Regions from separate parts of the Homo sapiens genome. Here region 1 is linked to region 2. The links are contacts of gene promoters, found by promoter capture Hi-C in blood cells and fetal thymus (Javierre and others, 2016). All regions are on one chromosome and are shown on one strand. The core of a region is centred on a gene start or on the middle of the fragment in contact, and the rest is flanking DNA. Distances in the headings are between cores, read along the strand shown. Region 1 holds the start of ZNF585B (zinc finger protein 585B). Region 2 holds the start of ZNF160 (zinc finger protein 160).

Region 1 (7,474 bases), core at 3,426-5,925, about 16 Mb after region 2:
TGGGAACTGTAGTCTAGAGCAGGAAGGGGTGAGGCGCTGGGGCAAGTGGAAGGAGGTCGCTTAAATGACTTCCTGCCCCAAGCCGACTCAGTGCAGAACGCACCCAGGACCCCGGACTGTACTAGGCGTTATAACGCTCTCTGAGAATGCTAGACTGACTAAATCGTCATTTTTGCCTTCATCCGTGGATAAGCCACATACTGTATGACTGCATTTATAGGAAATATTTAAAATAGTCAAATCTACGGAAAAGGAGTAAGTTAGAGTTTTTTAGGACTAGCAGGATTAGGGGGAACTGTGAGTGATTGGTAATAGCTAAAGGGTTCATTTTTGGGGTAATGCAAAGCTTCTTGAATTAGATAATGATGTTTGCACAACTCTGAATACACTAAAAGTGACTGAATGGTACACCATAAACGAGCTAATGTTATAGTTTGTAAATTATATTTGTGTGCATGTTTTTTAAAAATCAACTTTACTGAAGAATAATTTAGATACAATAAAATGCACTCATTTTAAGTGAACTGTTCGGTAAGCTTCAACGCATGTCTAAACCCTTGTCACCACCATCGTAATCAGGATATAGAATATTTTTTAAAATTAAAAAATTTTTAAGCATTTTAGTTAAATTTTTGTGGGTACATAGTAGTTGTATATGGGGTACATGAGATGTTTTGATACAGGCATGCAATGCGTAAGAATCATATCATGTAAAATAGGGTGTCTATCCCCTCAAGCATTTATCCTTAGTGTTACTGGATATAGAATTTTTTTTTTTTTTTTTTTGAGTTGGAGTCTAGCTGTCACCCAGGCTGGACTGCAGTGGCGAGATCTCGGCTCACTGCAAGTTCCGCCTCCCGGGTTCAAGCGATTCTCCTGCCTCAGCCTTCCGAGTAGCTGGTATTACAGGTGCCCGCCACCATGCCTGGCTAATTTTTGTATTTTTAGTAGAGACAGGGTTCGAGCTCACAGGCTGGTCTCGAACTCCCGACCTCGAACTTCTGACTTCGTGATCCGCTCGCCTCGGCCTCCCAAAGTGCTGAGATTACAAGCGTGAGCCACCGCGCCCGGCGGATATAGAATATTTTTATTCACCGCCCTCTGCCCCCCACATTGTTAAGTCAATCCCCACCTCCCAAACCCCACATCAGGCATCTATTGACTATTCTAAGGAATGAGCAGTAGTATCAAATTATGTTTTTAATTTGCATTTCCTGATGTCAATGAACTTAGCATACTTTCATATACTTATTTGCCATTCTTTTATCTTCTTTTGTGACATCTATTGAAAATATTCGGCTGGGCGCAGTGGCTCACGCCTGTAATCCTAGCACTTTGGGAGGCTGAGGCGGGCAGATCACCTGAGGTTGGGAGTTCGAGACCACCCTGACCAACGTGGAGAAACACCGTCTCTACTAAAAATACGAAATTGGCCAGGCGTGGCGGTGCATGCCTGTAATCCCTGCAGGAGAATCACTTGAACCCGGGAGGCAGAGGTTGCTGTGAGCTGAGATCACACTGTTGCACTCCAGCTAGGGCAACAAGAGCAAAACTGCATCTCAAAAAATAATAATAAATAAATAAATAAATAAAATTTTCTTATTTTAAAATTGGTTATTATTGAGTTGTAACAATTCTTTATATGTTTGGGTAAAAGTCCTTTGCCAAATATACATATTGCAAATTGCAAATATTCTCTCCCTGCCTGGGGCTTACCTTCTCAGTTTTTTTTTTTTTTTTTTTTTGAGACAGGGTCTTGCTCTGTTGCCTAGTCTGGAGTGCAGTGGTGTTAACATAGCTCACCACAGCCTTGACCTCCTGGGTTTAGTCGATCCTCCTGAGTAGCTGGGACTGCAGGTGTGCACCACCACCCCCAACTAATTTTCTTGTGTTTTGTGGAGATGGGGTCTCACTGTGTTATTACAGGTGTGAGTCACTGTGCCCAGCCCTCAGTTTCTTCATGATGTCTTTCAAAAAGCAGTTTTTACTTCTGATGAAATCCAATTTCTCATCTTTAAAATGTGCTTCATGCTTTCTGGTCTTTCTAACAATCTTTGACTCCTCTAGTGTTGTGAAGAATTTCTCCTATGTTTTATTCTAAAGGTTGTATAGTTTTAGTTTTTATTTTTGGTCTATCATCCACTTGAAGTTAGTTTTTGTGTATGTGAGGTAATGTTCAAAGTTATTATTTTCCAGATGGAAATTCAGTTGTTCTAACATCACATGTTAACAAAACTATCATTTTCCTCTTGAATGACCTCAACATCTAAAGTAGGCAGGATAATGTTCCCCCCAAAATACCCACATGCTAGTTCCTGGGACTTGTGAATATGCTATGTTACATGGCAAGTGGAATTAAATTAACAGGTAGAATTAAAGTTGCTAATCGGCTGACCTTAACATAGGGGAATTATACTGGATTGTCCAGTTAGACCCAATGTAATCACATGGGGTCTGAAATGAGGAAGAAGGCATAAAGTCAGTGTTGGAATTGTGTGCTGTGAGAAACACACGACCAGCCATTATTGGGTGTAAAGATGAAAGGAGCCCATGAGCTGAGGAATGCAGGCAGCTTCTCCAACTTGGAAAATGAAAAAAAACAAATTCTCCAGAGCCTCCAGAAAGGAATGCAGCTTGCAAACTTTTGATTTTAGAGCAGAAAAAACTCATTTCTTTTTTTTAATTTTTAATTTATTTTTTTAATTTTTATTTATTTATTTTGAGATGGGGTCTCCCTCTGTTGCCCAAGCTGGAGTGCAGTGGTGGGATCTCGGCTCACTGCAACGTCTGCCTCCTGGGTTCAAGTGATTCTCCTGCCTCAGCCTCCCTAGTAGCTGAGATTACAGGCACCCACCACCATGCCCGGCTAATTTTTCTTTCCTTTTTTTTTTTTTTTTTTTTTTTTTTTTTAAGTAGAGACAGGGTTTCATCATGTTGGCTAGGCTGGTCTTGAACTCCTGACCTCAAGTGATCTGCCTGCCTTGGCCTCCCGAAGTACTGGGATTACAGGTGTGAGCCACTGCACCCAGCATTTTTTTTTTTTTTTTTTTTTTTTAGAGACAAGGTCTTGCTCTGTCTCCCAGGCTGGAATGCAGAGGTATGATCACAGCTCACTGCAGCCTCATACTCCTGGACTTAAGCATCCTTCCGCCTAGGCCTTCTGAGTAGCTGGGACTATTGGTGTACACCACCACACCTGGCTAATTGAAAAAAAAATTTATAGAGAGAGGGTTTAGTTATGTTGCCCAGTCTAGTTTCAAACTCCGGGCCTCAAGTAATCCTCCCACCGAGGCCTCCCAAAGTGCTGGGATTACAGGCATGAGCCACCACAACAGCTGTGTCATCCCAACCCCTCTCTGGGCTTGATCACATAAAGAAGGCTTGCATTCCTCAGATAAAAGCCATTTATTTTCTTTTTCAACACTATGCGGAGTGAGATAAGCCAGACCAAAAGGACAAATATTGTATGAATCCACTTATATGAGGTGCCTAGAATAGGTGTATTCATAGAGACAGAAAGTAGAATTGAAGTTACATGAAGTTATATGAGGTACATGATAAAGCCTCTATACTTAAAACAGTGTGCTATTTGTGTGTGGTTAGAGAGACAGACAAAGGGAGGAGGATGGGAAATGGAGAAATAAACATCCATGGCCGGGCGCGGTGGCTCACGCCCAGCCCTTTGGGTGGCCGAGGTGGGTGGATCACCTGAGGTCAGGAGTTCGAGACCAGCCTGGCCAACATGATGAAACCCCATCTCTACTAAAAATACAAAAAATAAGCTGGGCATGGTGGCATGCGCCTGTCATCCCAGCTACTCAGGAGGCTGAGGCAGGAGAATTGCTTGAACCTGGGAGGCGGAGGTTGCAGTGAGCCGAGATTAAGCCACTGCACTCCAGCCTGGGCAACAGGAGCAAAACTCCGTCTCAAAAAAAGAAAGAAAGAAAGAAATTAACATCCCGGCCAGGCACGGTGGCTCACACCTGTAATCCCAGCACTTTGGGAGGCCAAGGCGGGTGAATCATGAGGTGAAGAGATCGAGACCATCCTGGCCAACATGATGAAACCCCGTCTCTACTAAAAATACAAAAATTAGCTGGGTGTGGTGGCACGCGCCTGTAGTCCCAGCTACTCGGGAGGCTGAGGCAGGAGAATCGCTTGAACCTGGGAGGCAGAGGTTGCAGTGAGCTGAGATTGTGCCACTGCGCTACAGCCTGGTGACAGAGTGAGACTTCATCTCAAAAAAAAAAGAAATTAACATCCACATAGATGCTTAGTATTTGATAAAGGTAGCAGCTCAAATCACCACAGTCACATCATAAAGTTTTATGCAGCCCATACACACACAGCAGAAAAAAAAAAAAACGAAGCTCTCTACGGAATGACATTAACTCTGGAATATATAAAAAATGGAAAGTATAGAACAGTGTAACATATAGTTCGTCTAAAAAAGAAAAGGAAATTAGATTAGATATAAGCATTTGTTTATATTCACTAAAAAAAGAAAAGATAGGAAAAAAGAAGTATTGGAAACGTGAACCAGAAACAATACCTATAGTGATAACCTATAGTGATTGGGGTGGTGGGGGGAGTGAGACTTGATATGTCTTTTTATACAGTTGCATAGGAAAAACAAACTGGTTTTAAAAATATATACTCTCACAACACTCAATACTTCCAGAATGTTTCGTTTTTAACACAAAATATGTGGAGTTTTTCTGACACCACTTCTCCAGCCCTCCCTACATGGGTGTCCTACAATTGAATTCAATTCTGACACTAACCTGAGTTAGCACAGACCTTACAGTTTAATTGCTCAGTCCCACAAGACTGCCCACCTCTTCAGATGCCAATGACAACTACTAGGTCACCTGATTACCAACAACTGCCCAGTTTGCCTGAAAATTAGAGGTTCTCATCATCCCCTTCTTGGATTTGATTCTACCAAACTTTTAAGGGAGAACAAATTCTAATATTTCTCAAACTAATCCAAAAAAATTGAAGGGGAAGGAATTTTTCCAAACTGATTCTGTGAGGCCAGCACCATCCTCATACTAAAACCAGGCAAAGACAGAAGAAAGAGAAAACTACAGGCCAAGATCCCTGATAAACGCAGATGCAAAAATCCTCAACAAAATACTAGCAAACCAAATCCAATAGCATGTCAAAAAGATACACAATGATCAAGTGGGACTTATCCCAGGGAAGCAAAGATGGTTTAACATATGCAGATTAGTATGTGCAATACATCACATTGACAGAATGAAGGACAAAAATCATATGGTCATCTCAATAGAAACAGAAAAAGCATTTGACAAAATTCAACATCTCTTTGCAATCAAAAAAAAAAAAAAACAAAACTCCCTGGCCGGGCTCGGAGGCTCACGCCTGTAATCCCAGTTCTTTGGAGTCTCACTCTGTCACCAGGCTGGAGTGCAGTGGCTCCATCTCAGCTCCCTGCAACCTCCACCTCCTGGGTTCAAGTGATTCTACTGCCTCAGCCTCCCAAGTAGCTGGTACTACAGGCGCACGCCACCACACCCAGCTAATTTTTGTATTTTTAGTAGAGGCAGGGTTTCACCATGTTGGCTAGGATGGTCTCGATCTCTTGACCTCATGATCCACCTGCCTCGGCCTCCCAATGCGTTGGGATTACAGGCATGAGCCACTGCGCCCAGCTGGGATTGCTTTTGAGCCTGGGCAGTCAAGGTTGCAGTGAGCCATGATTGTGCCATTACACTCCAGCCTGGGTGACAGAGTGAGACTCTGTCTCAAAAAAAAAAAAAAAAAAAAAGCAAGATTTTCTTCAGGTGTTTTTAGTCACACGTTGGCCATATTAAAGACTGTTATTATTATTATTGTGCTGTTGTTGTTGTTGTTGTTGTTTTGAGATGGAGTTTTGCTCTTGTTGCCCAGGCTAGAGTGCAATGGCATGATCTCGGCTCACTGCAACCTCCGCCTTCTGGGTTCAAGCGATTCTCCTGCCTCAGCCCCCCAAGTAGCTGGGATTATAGGCACACACCACCATGCCCAGCTAATTTTGTATTTTTAGTAGAGACGGGGTTTCACCATGTTGGTCAGGCTGGTCTCGAACTCCCCACCTAAGGTGATGTGCCCGCCTCGGCCTCCCAAAGTGCTGGGATTACAGGCATGAACCACCACGACCAGCCAAGACTATTATTATTTTTATTGTTGCTGCTTACTATAGTTGTGCTTGAGTTAGCTAGGGTGGATGCTGATGGAGATTAAGGGGATTAAAATATCTATACCTCCCAAAGCCTTCTACCAGCCGTTTCAAAGGGGATGCTTAGACTTCTAACCCCTCTTCCATGGTATCTCCTAGAAGAGGATTGTACTAACCCAACTTCTACCCTATTTCCTAATGTGTTTTCAACTACTAAAAATTGTACCTCCCTTCCTGCAGGATACTACCTACTGTGACATAACTCCGTCTTGCCTAGTGGTTTCACCCAGGAGTGAACTCAGATCCCAGTCCACCCTTCTCCTGAGTGGTGTCTCCAAAAAATAGATTGTACCATCCTGATGCCTCCTCTTATCTCCCTTATTTCTCTCAGGATCCCTGGCTTCCTAGTTCCCCCATGGTTTCTCCTAGTAAATCGTTGTTTTCTGCAGTGTGCCGTAACCAAGGGGTAACTTAGGTATTGTAAATATAACAGCCGGAGGCGGTGGCTCACGCCTATAACCCCAGCATTTTGGGAGGCCGTGGTGGGTGGATCATTTGAGGTCAGGAGTTCGAGACCAGCGTGACCAGTAGAGACGTGAAACTGCGTCTCTACTAAAAATACAAAAAAATTAGCTGGGTGTGGTGGCGCTTGCCTGTAATCCCAGCTACTCGGGAGGCAGAGGCAGGAGAATCGCTTGAACCTGGGAGGCAGAGGTTGCAGTGAGCCGAGATGGCGCCACTGCACTCCAGCCTGGGCGACAGAACAAGACTCTGTCTCAAAACAAACAAACAAACAAAAAAAAACATAAAGCTCCAGATCCTATCTTCAGGAACTTCTTCTTGGGTACAAGCGTGGTCACACTGGTTACAGTCTTGCATTCTATGTGAAAATCCTTGCCTTACTCTAGTCAACACTCCAGGAGGCGGACTCCTCCACTGTACGGAATCGATACGCATCAAAGATGGCGACCCACACAAATAAACACCATAAGGGCGCGGTTATATTCTCTGCCCGTGAGCGCCGATTACGGAAACTGCACGATGTCTCTAAATATGTGTGTGCTCCCTGTTGACTGTGGGCTGAAATTGGCTTCCAAGTTAATTTAGAGCATGCGCAATATCAACAGTCCATAAGGGGAGGTGCTAGAAGTCGGACCGGAAGTGGAAGTGGTCCCCGAAGGCTATTTCGCCGCTGGCGTCAGGACTATTTTCACGTTTTAATGCCGAGAGGTCTCTGTGACGATTTTGGTTGGTTGCAATTAGGGATTCTGTGAAGTCAGTAATAGAGGA
Region 2 (7,096 bases), core at 601-3,100:
AAAAATTAGTGGAGTGTGGCGGTGCAAACCCGTAGTCCCAGCCACTTGGGAGACTGAGGTAGGAGGATCACTTGATTCCAGAGTTGAAGGCTGCAGTGAGCTATGGTCTTGACACTGCACTCTAGCCTGGGCAACAGAGCAAGATGCTCTCTCAAAAAATAAATAGACCGGGCACGGTGGCTCACGCCTGTGATCCCAGCACTTTGGGAGGCCAAGGTGTGGGGGATCCCTCGAGCTCAGGAGTTCGAGTCTAGCCTGAGCAACATGGCGAAACCCCGTCTCTACAAAAAGTACAAAAATTAACTAGGCATGGTGACGTGTGCTTGTAGTCCCAGCTACTGGGGAGATTGAGGTGGGAGGATTGCCTGAGCCTGGTAGATGAAAAGTTGCAGTGAGCAGAGATGACGCCACTGCACTCCAGCCTGGGTGACAGAGCAAGACTCTCTCCAAGAAATATGTAACATTTTTAACATAACATAACATAACATAACAAACTTTCCCTGAATAACTGTAGTCATGCCAAGTGCTCATCCACAGCCTCATAACTTGTGCTTGTGCTTTCTAGCCTTGTTTACTCCTCCATATATGAAAAAAAGAAAAAAAAGCTTTTTAGTTTGTGTCTCTTGGACATTTTCAGATCTTGTGATTGGAACATTCTCTCTATTGCAATAGTCCTTTTGAATAAAATCTTCCTTCTCTAAGTCTGAATTTGTCATTTACAGTGGTAAATATCTTAATTGTTCTGAGATAAATTATGTATATTATCTTTTTGTGGCAAAGGACTTAATATATATTCAGTAGGTGAAAGTAGTTCCTGGGGCCAGGTATGGTGGCTCACGCCTGTAATCCCAGCACTTTGGGAGGCTGAGGCGGGTGGATCACTTGAGGTCAGGAATTCGAGACCAGCCTAGGCAACATGGTGAAACTTCATCTCCGCTAAAGAACGTGGTGGCGGGCGCCTGTAATCCTAGCTACTCGGGAGGCTGAGGCAGGAGCATTGCTTGAACCCGGGAGGCCGAGGTTGCAGTGAGCAGAGATCATGCCACTGCACCCCAGCCTGGACGACAGAGCGTGACTCCGGCTCAAAAAAAAAAAAAAAAAGTATAGGCGTTTGAGGTTGTCATCTCGCACGGAATAGAATAGTAAGTATAAAAAAGGACAATGCAATTTATATCTATTTTTTAAAAGTTACTGCTAATTTCAGGGCTTTTAAATTACTTAATTTTAATCGCAGAAACTTTTCCAGCATGCCATCACCGCTCCGTGTCAACCCATGTTCCCAGACTCCTGGGCTGCTTCAGCGTCAATAACATTACTGGGTAAACGCGCTAGCAAAAAATGCTTTCAACATAAACCGCCTCCATTCTAAGAGGAAAGCAGTTTGGTTTCCAAAATAACCTACACAACTGTGCTTTTAACTTGAAACCGTTTGAAACATCTACGCCGTTCCACAAGACACTACAGATGGCTCTGGGCGCTGGGCTGTGGGCATCACACGAAATCGCAGACCCTAACGTGTCCCGTCCAGCCCCGCCTCTCCCCCGGGTCCCTTCCTGGCGGTCCCTCTGCCTCCCTCCCCCGCGGTCCCTTCGCCTTCCTCCCCCGCGGTCCCTTCCCGCGGTTCCTCCCCGCCCTTCCCCGGCGGCTCCTCCCCGGCCCGCCCCCGGGTCCCTCCACTTGGTCACTCCCCACCCCTCCCCGGTGGCTCCTCCCCGTTCCTTCCCTGGGGTCCCTGCCTGGCGGCCCCTGCTTCAGCCCGGCTCTCTCAACGCCCCGCCCTTTTCCGGTTCCGCCCATCTCGGACCCCGCCCCGGGCCGCTCGGTCGCTTTCCTTCGCGCAGTTGCCCACAGACCCGGAAGTGGATCGTGCGGAGCAAGCATCACACCATGGCGTATGAGTGTTCCTCTGTGTAGACTCAACCTGCGCCTCGCCGTCCCCCATTCGCACACCCGATGCCCGGGGGTCGCTACGGACTTAAAATCTCCGCACCGCACCCTCCACCTCAGGTAAATAGGCCTTGCTGTGTGGGCCCGGAGACGCTTCCTTTTGGGTTAAAGTCGCCCTGAGGCTGGTCCCTGCCCCCGGTCTTTCTGCCTTGGGCCAAGTAAACACGGCCTTTCCCGGTTTTTTAAACGTTTAAGCAGGATTTTCCTGCTTAAAATCCTTTACTGACTCCTCCTCCCGCCCCGCATCGCTTAAAGTCCTCACCGCCTGCCCTGGGCGCCTCCCAGCCTCGCTCTCGTCGGCCCCTGGAGCGCAGCGCCGCCGACCCAGTCCCGGGGAGGCCGCGCCTCCGCCTGGTCCTGGGATCCTGCACATCCCACCCCTGTCCTAAGGCGCCGTCGCCCCCCACCTCCCTCCTCCTCGTGCCGGGCCCTGCTGCTCCCCAGGCCTCCCCTTCGCAGTCACCGCTTCCCTTGAGCCCTCGTTGGGGAGGTGCCCGGGGCCCGTCCTGTGACACCCGGTGTTTTTGCCTGCCCAGCTCCACCCCCTGGAAAATGTACTCCTCCAACATGCAGACATCTTACTACAAACCCTCCAGTGAATGTGTGGCCCAAGGGAATCAGGAGAAAGAGAGACAAAGAGCCACTGAGAGGAGATGGAAAAACCAAGAAAGAGAAAAGAAAAATGAGGGAGACCCATAAACAGATGGCAAAGTGGAGGATGGGTGAGAGATTTGCAGCGACAGAGTGAAAGAAGCAGTCAAGAAAGTAGCAGGGGCAGAAAAGCAATTGGCGAAATGTAGAGAAAAGCTCGATGTCCCGAGATGCAGGACAACAAGATAAGGAGAGGGACAGCAAAGAAGGAGCCTCCTCAGACAGAGAGTGGGGGAGAGGAGAAAGGATTTGGCCGAGGGCAGACAGAGCTGCGTGGTGCTGGGACAGCTGGAGGGGACAGCTGGTGACAAGGCGAGCAGAGGGAGCACCACAACACAGGGAGGCCTGGGATCTGGGAGTGCCAGAGAGTGGGGATAAGCGGGTGTAACAGGGAAGAGGGGATTTAACAGGGAGAGCAGAGGAGGCGCGGAGATGGGGTAAGAAAGAGGCAGAAATAGATGGAGATTGGGACGATGAAAAGATTGGAAAGAAAACGCCACAAGAGGTGAAACAAATTGGAAGAATGGAGTAGAACAGATATAAGGGGAAAAAACAAAGAAGGGAGAAACAGCAGAAGAAAAAAGAGGCACAACATCGTCAGAATCCTAGGGGGAAGATAAAAGGGGAAAAAGGCTGGAGAGACAAGGTGAAAGTGAGAGGCACAAAATGGGGGAGAGGAACACATAGTTATAAAGAAAGAGGGGCGCCCTGGGGCCAGGTGAGAGGTGAGTTGAGATTGGATATGACAATTTGATTTCTCTATTTATAATGTGTTACATTTAAATTGTAATCTAATTGTTTAAATTCTACATATAAGGATGAGAATTACAAAGCTCTGTGTAAAAGGCTTGTGCATTTTACAATTATGGCATAAGAGGCTAGCTTTCATTTGCCCATGCTGTTTAGCCATTGGGCAGTGACTTGCCTCATTCAGTTATGGGTCTCCCTCTTCCTGTTTCCGAGGATGGGGTAGGGTGGGGGCAGTGAAGAGAGGCAAGGAGTGACTGGCTGTGTCACTGCCTGGTGCCTTGTATTTACCTTTCATCTCACAGTTCATGCTGAAGGTTGAGATGAAGCTTATCTAATTCAGTCTCTTTTTCTATATGTAATTATTGCTGAAGTAAGCTTTTGTGGAATCCTGTATTGGCTCATGTCATTCTTTTCTAAATGTGATATATTTTCAATTTTTTCCCTTTGTAGAATTCCATATATAGTTAATATATCATATACATATTAAATAATATATATATTTTCAAAATGGTTTCCATTTGAAGTTAATTGTGTTGAGTTCAGATTGAGGTCTGCATGCTTTCTACTCTTTATCATATATTGGAAATACTCTTTGGTAGTCAGTAGGTAACTTTATTCATTTTTATTTATTTATTTATTTATTTTTGAGACAGTCTCGCTCTTTCACCCAGGCTGGAGGGCAGTGGCGTGATCTCAGCTCACTGCAACCTCTGTCTCCTGGGTTCAAGTGATTCTCCTGCCTCAGCCTTCCAACTAGCTGGGATTACAGGTGTGTGCCACCACGCCTGGCTAATTTTTTGTATTTTTAGTAGAGACGGGATTTCACCATGTTGGCTAGGCTGGTCTTGACCTCCTGACCTCAAGTGATCCACCTGTCTCGGCCTCCCAAATTTCTGGGATTACAGGCGTGAGCCACCGCTCCTGGCCCTTATTTATTTTTTTTGAGATGGAGGTACTCTGATGCCCAGGCTGTAGTGCACTCGTGTGACCTTGGCTCACTGCCACCTCCACCTCCCAGGTTCAAGTGATTCTCCTGCCTCAGCCTCCCAAGTAGCTGGGATTACAGGCACCTGCCACCACACCTGGCTAATTTTCGTATTTTTAGTAGAGATAGGGTTTCATTATATTGGCCAGGCTGGTCTTAAACTCCTGATCTCAAGTGATCCCTCCCAAAGTGCTGGGATTACAGGCGTGAGCCACTACGCCGGCCATCAGTAGGAATTTTAGATGGTATGAATGTGTATTTGGTAAAGATATCAGTGACGCTTTTTTTTTTAACGTTAACATAAGAACCTATTAACTAATTTTTTTTTGGAGACGGAGTCTCGCTCTGTCGCCCAGGCTGGAGTGCAGTGGTGCAATCTCGGCTCACTGCAAGCTCCGCCTCCCAGGTTCATGCCATTCTCCTGCCTCAGCCTCCCAAGTAGTTGGGACTACAGGCAGCCGCCACCACGCCCGGCAAATTTTTTGTATTTTTAGTAGAGATGGGGTTTCACCATGGTAGCCAGGATGGTCTCGATCTCCTGACCTCGTGATCCACCCGCCTCAGCCTCCCAAAGTGCTGGGATTACAGGCGTGAGCCACCACGCTCGGCCAACTTATTTGTTACTAGTCAGTTTTCTTCCCTTATGTCATCTCTTAAAATAGTGACCTGTGAACTACTAAGCAGATGTCCCCCTCAAGTCCCTTTTGTCAGTTCTATTTTCTGTAAATGTGGAAAGATGGGCTGGATTGACTCAAAACCTTATTCCAGCAGAGCTTATGTGTTCATGAAAAAATTTGCTGAGAGAGCTCATCTCTATAGCTGACAGTCTTTCACTGTTTTCAACACCAATAGCCATGTTTTCACAGTTCTGCGTTTCATTAGTATGTTGTGTTTTTCTGGAAAAGAGGAATTAAATGTTTGGGATCAATGTGATAAAGCCATGAAAGGGAAGTTTCTTTTGCCCAGGTATGTGAAAGAAGATCCTGGAATTTTCCAGGGGAGGCGTGAGAAAGTCTAGTGTTGCCCATTAGCCCTTCGAGGCCGTCATAGAGTCAGATACATCTTCTAATTCAACTTGGATGACTTAGTGAAACATCTCCCCGTCTAGCCCTCAGTAAATCCACCTGCAACGTGAAGGTGAGGGACTCAGTCAATATACCTCAGTCTGGGCAATACTAATCCCCTTAATGTTTGGCAGAATTGGGTGTACATCTGTGTTTTGCAGTTCTTCTAGGAATTGGGGAGTGCCCACTGCAATTAAAAATTTAAATGGGACTCAGTCCTTTAAAATTTAAAACAAAACAAAACCAAAACCACAAGGATGGAAGCTGGGGTGTAGACTCAGAGGCAGAGAGACCATCTTTGGAGGCCTTTCTCTGCATTAGAGTTATGGCTAAATCTAAAGCAGTCATGTCAGTCCCTGGTAGGGAACCCTCCACCGGCTTCCCGTGTTCCCCAGGACAAAAGCCCAACTCCTCACTGTGGCTCCACAGCCCTGCGTCCAGGGCCCCTGCCAGTGTCCAGCCTCCTCCTGGGAGCTTGCCCTCATCTCATGACTCCCTCTGCCCTAGTCACATTTGTTTTTCTCTTTTCCCAAACATCAAAACCTTTCCTGTCTCAGTCTTTGTCCCTCCTCTTACCCTATGTCCCCAAATCATCACAGCTCTGTCCCTTTCTTCTCCTTCGGGTCTAGCCTCAGAGCTGTCTTCCACCCTCTTGCACCCCCATCTGAAATTCTCTCTGCCTGTCAGTCTCTACCACGTTACTCAGGTTTCACTGTCTCCGCATCCATCACCACATCGGACACTCTTCTGCATGGATTATTTTGAGTGTTTTGTGTCTCCATCTTGGCCACGGGACGACTGCAGCACCTGCTCTGGGGTTGTGGTTCAGATGCTGGGGCTGGGGTCGGGCTGAGGAGTCCTCAGGGAAGACCAAAAGGATAGGGCGGGTAGTGAGGATGGTCTCATATTCTGGAAATTTCATCCGTAATTGGTCTAAACTTCCTGTGGCTATTTATTCCAGTCTATGTAAGAGCAGAAGGCCTCACTGAGGCCTGAAAAGCCCCGCAGACCCTGTGTCCTCAGCCAGTGCCGAGGCGTCCCCACCGCCTTACTCCAGCTCCCGGGTCTTCCGCGCTCTACACATCACCGGGGCCCGGTGGCCATCCTGGGCAGGGGCTTTGCCTTCCAGCAGGTGATGCGCTCGCAGTCAGGGGTCCTGGATTCCCTTCAGGAAGGGTGGCGAGAAGTTCAGAAGCTAAGTGGGCCATGAAGGAGGCACTCCCTAAACAGCGGGGGAATTTTGCAGGGGACTGTGAGTGGAGAGACAAGGGGACAATGGCAGCCTCCCTCATGAGATCTGGGGCCTCTCTTTTTCTTGGACATCCTCCGCCAGCTCAATCCGGCCAATCTTCACCTGCCTTTAAACTGGATTCCATGGTGTCCCCAAATTGGGGGCAATTCCTTCCAGCATGGCCAACTTCTAGAATCTAGACTTGAGGCCCACTGTCCTGCAGATAGCAGTTTGTGTCCATTCCTGCCGCATCGCTTGTGTCCAGAGGCCTTTCAATCCAGTGTGCTTCTCAGGCTGGAAGAGAAGTAGAAAAATGGGGACAGGTGAAGAAGTCCTTAGAGGTGTGGAGTGAGGCGTGGAAGCAATGCTGAGCCTCTAGAGGAGCTGGATGAATGCTGCATGCACCTGGCCCACAGGTGACTGTGGGCTCACGGGATGTGTGGCACACTTGGAAAGAAGTCTCAGGTC

The links. Contacts are between HindIII fragments. The CHiCAGO score rates a contact against its expected background, and 5 or more counts as called.
Region 1: a contact is called between a fragment that was not itself captured here and the fragment with the promoter of ZNF160 in region 2, in 1 of 17 cell types (non-activated CD4 T cells). The highest score is 6.9, in non-activated CD4 T cells.

Annotation. Positions count from the first base shown.
Region 1 is chr19:37,210,399-37,217,872 of GRCh38, reverse strand. It overlaps ZNF585B (zinc finger protein 585B), which reads left to right and starts at 7,337. Exons shown (of 5, transcript NM_152279.4): 1 at 7,337-7,432. RefSeq lists an enhancer at 1-33. The HindIII fragment of the contact is 8,273 bases long and covers 539-7,474 here.
Region 2 is chr19:53,098,176-53,105,271 of GRCh38, reverse strand. ZNF160 (zinc finger protein 160) reads left to right here and starts at 1,850. Exons shown (of 6, transcript NM_001322131.2): 1 at 1,850-2,007. RefSeq lists a silencer at 1,398-1,807. The HindIII fragment of the contact is 3,069 bases long and covers 608-3,676 here.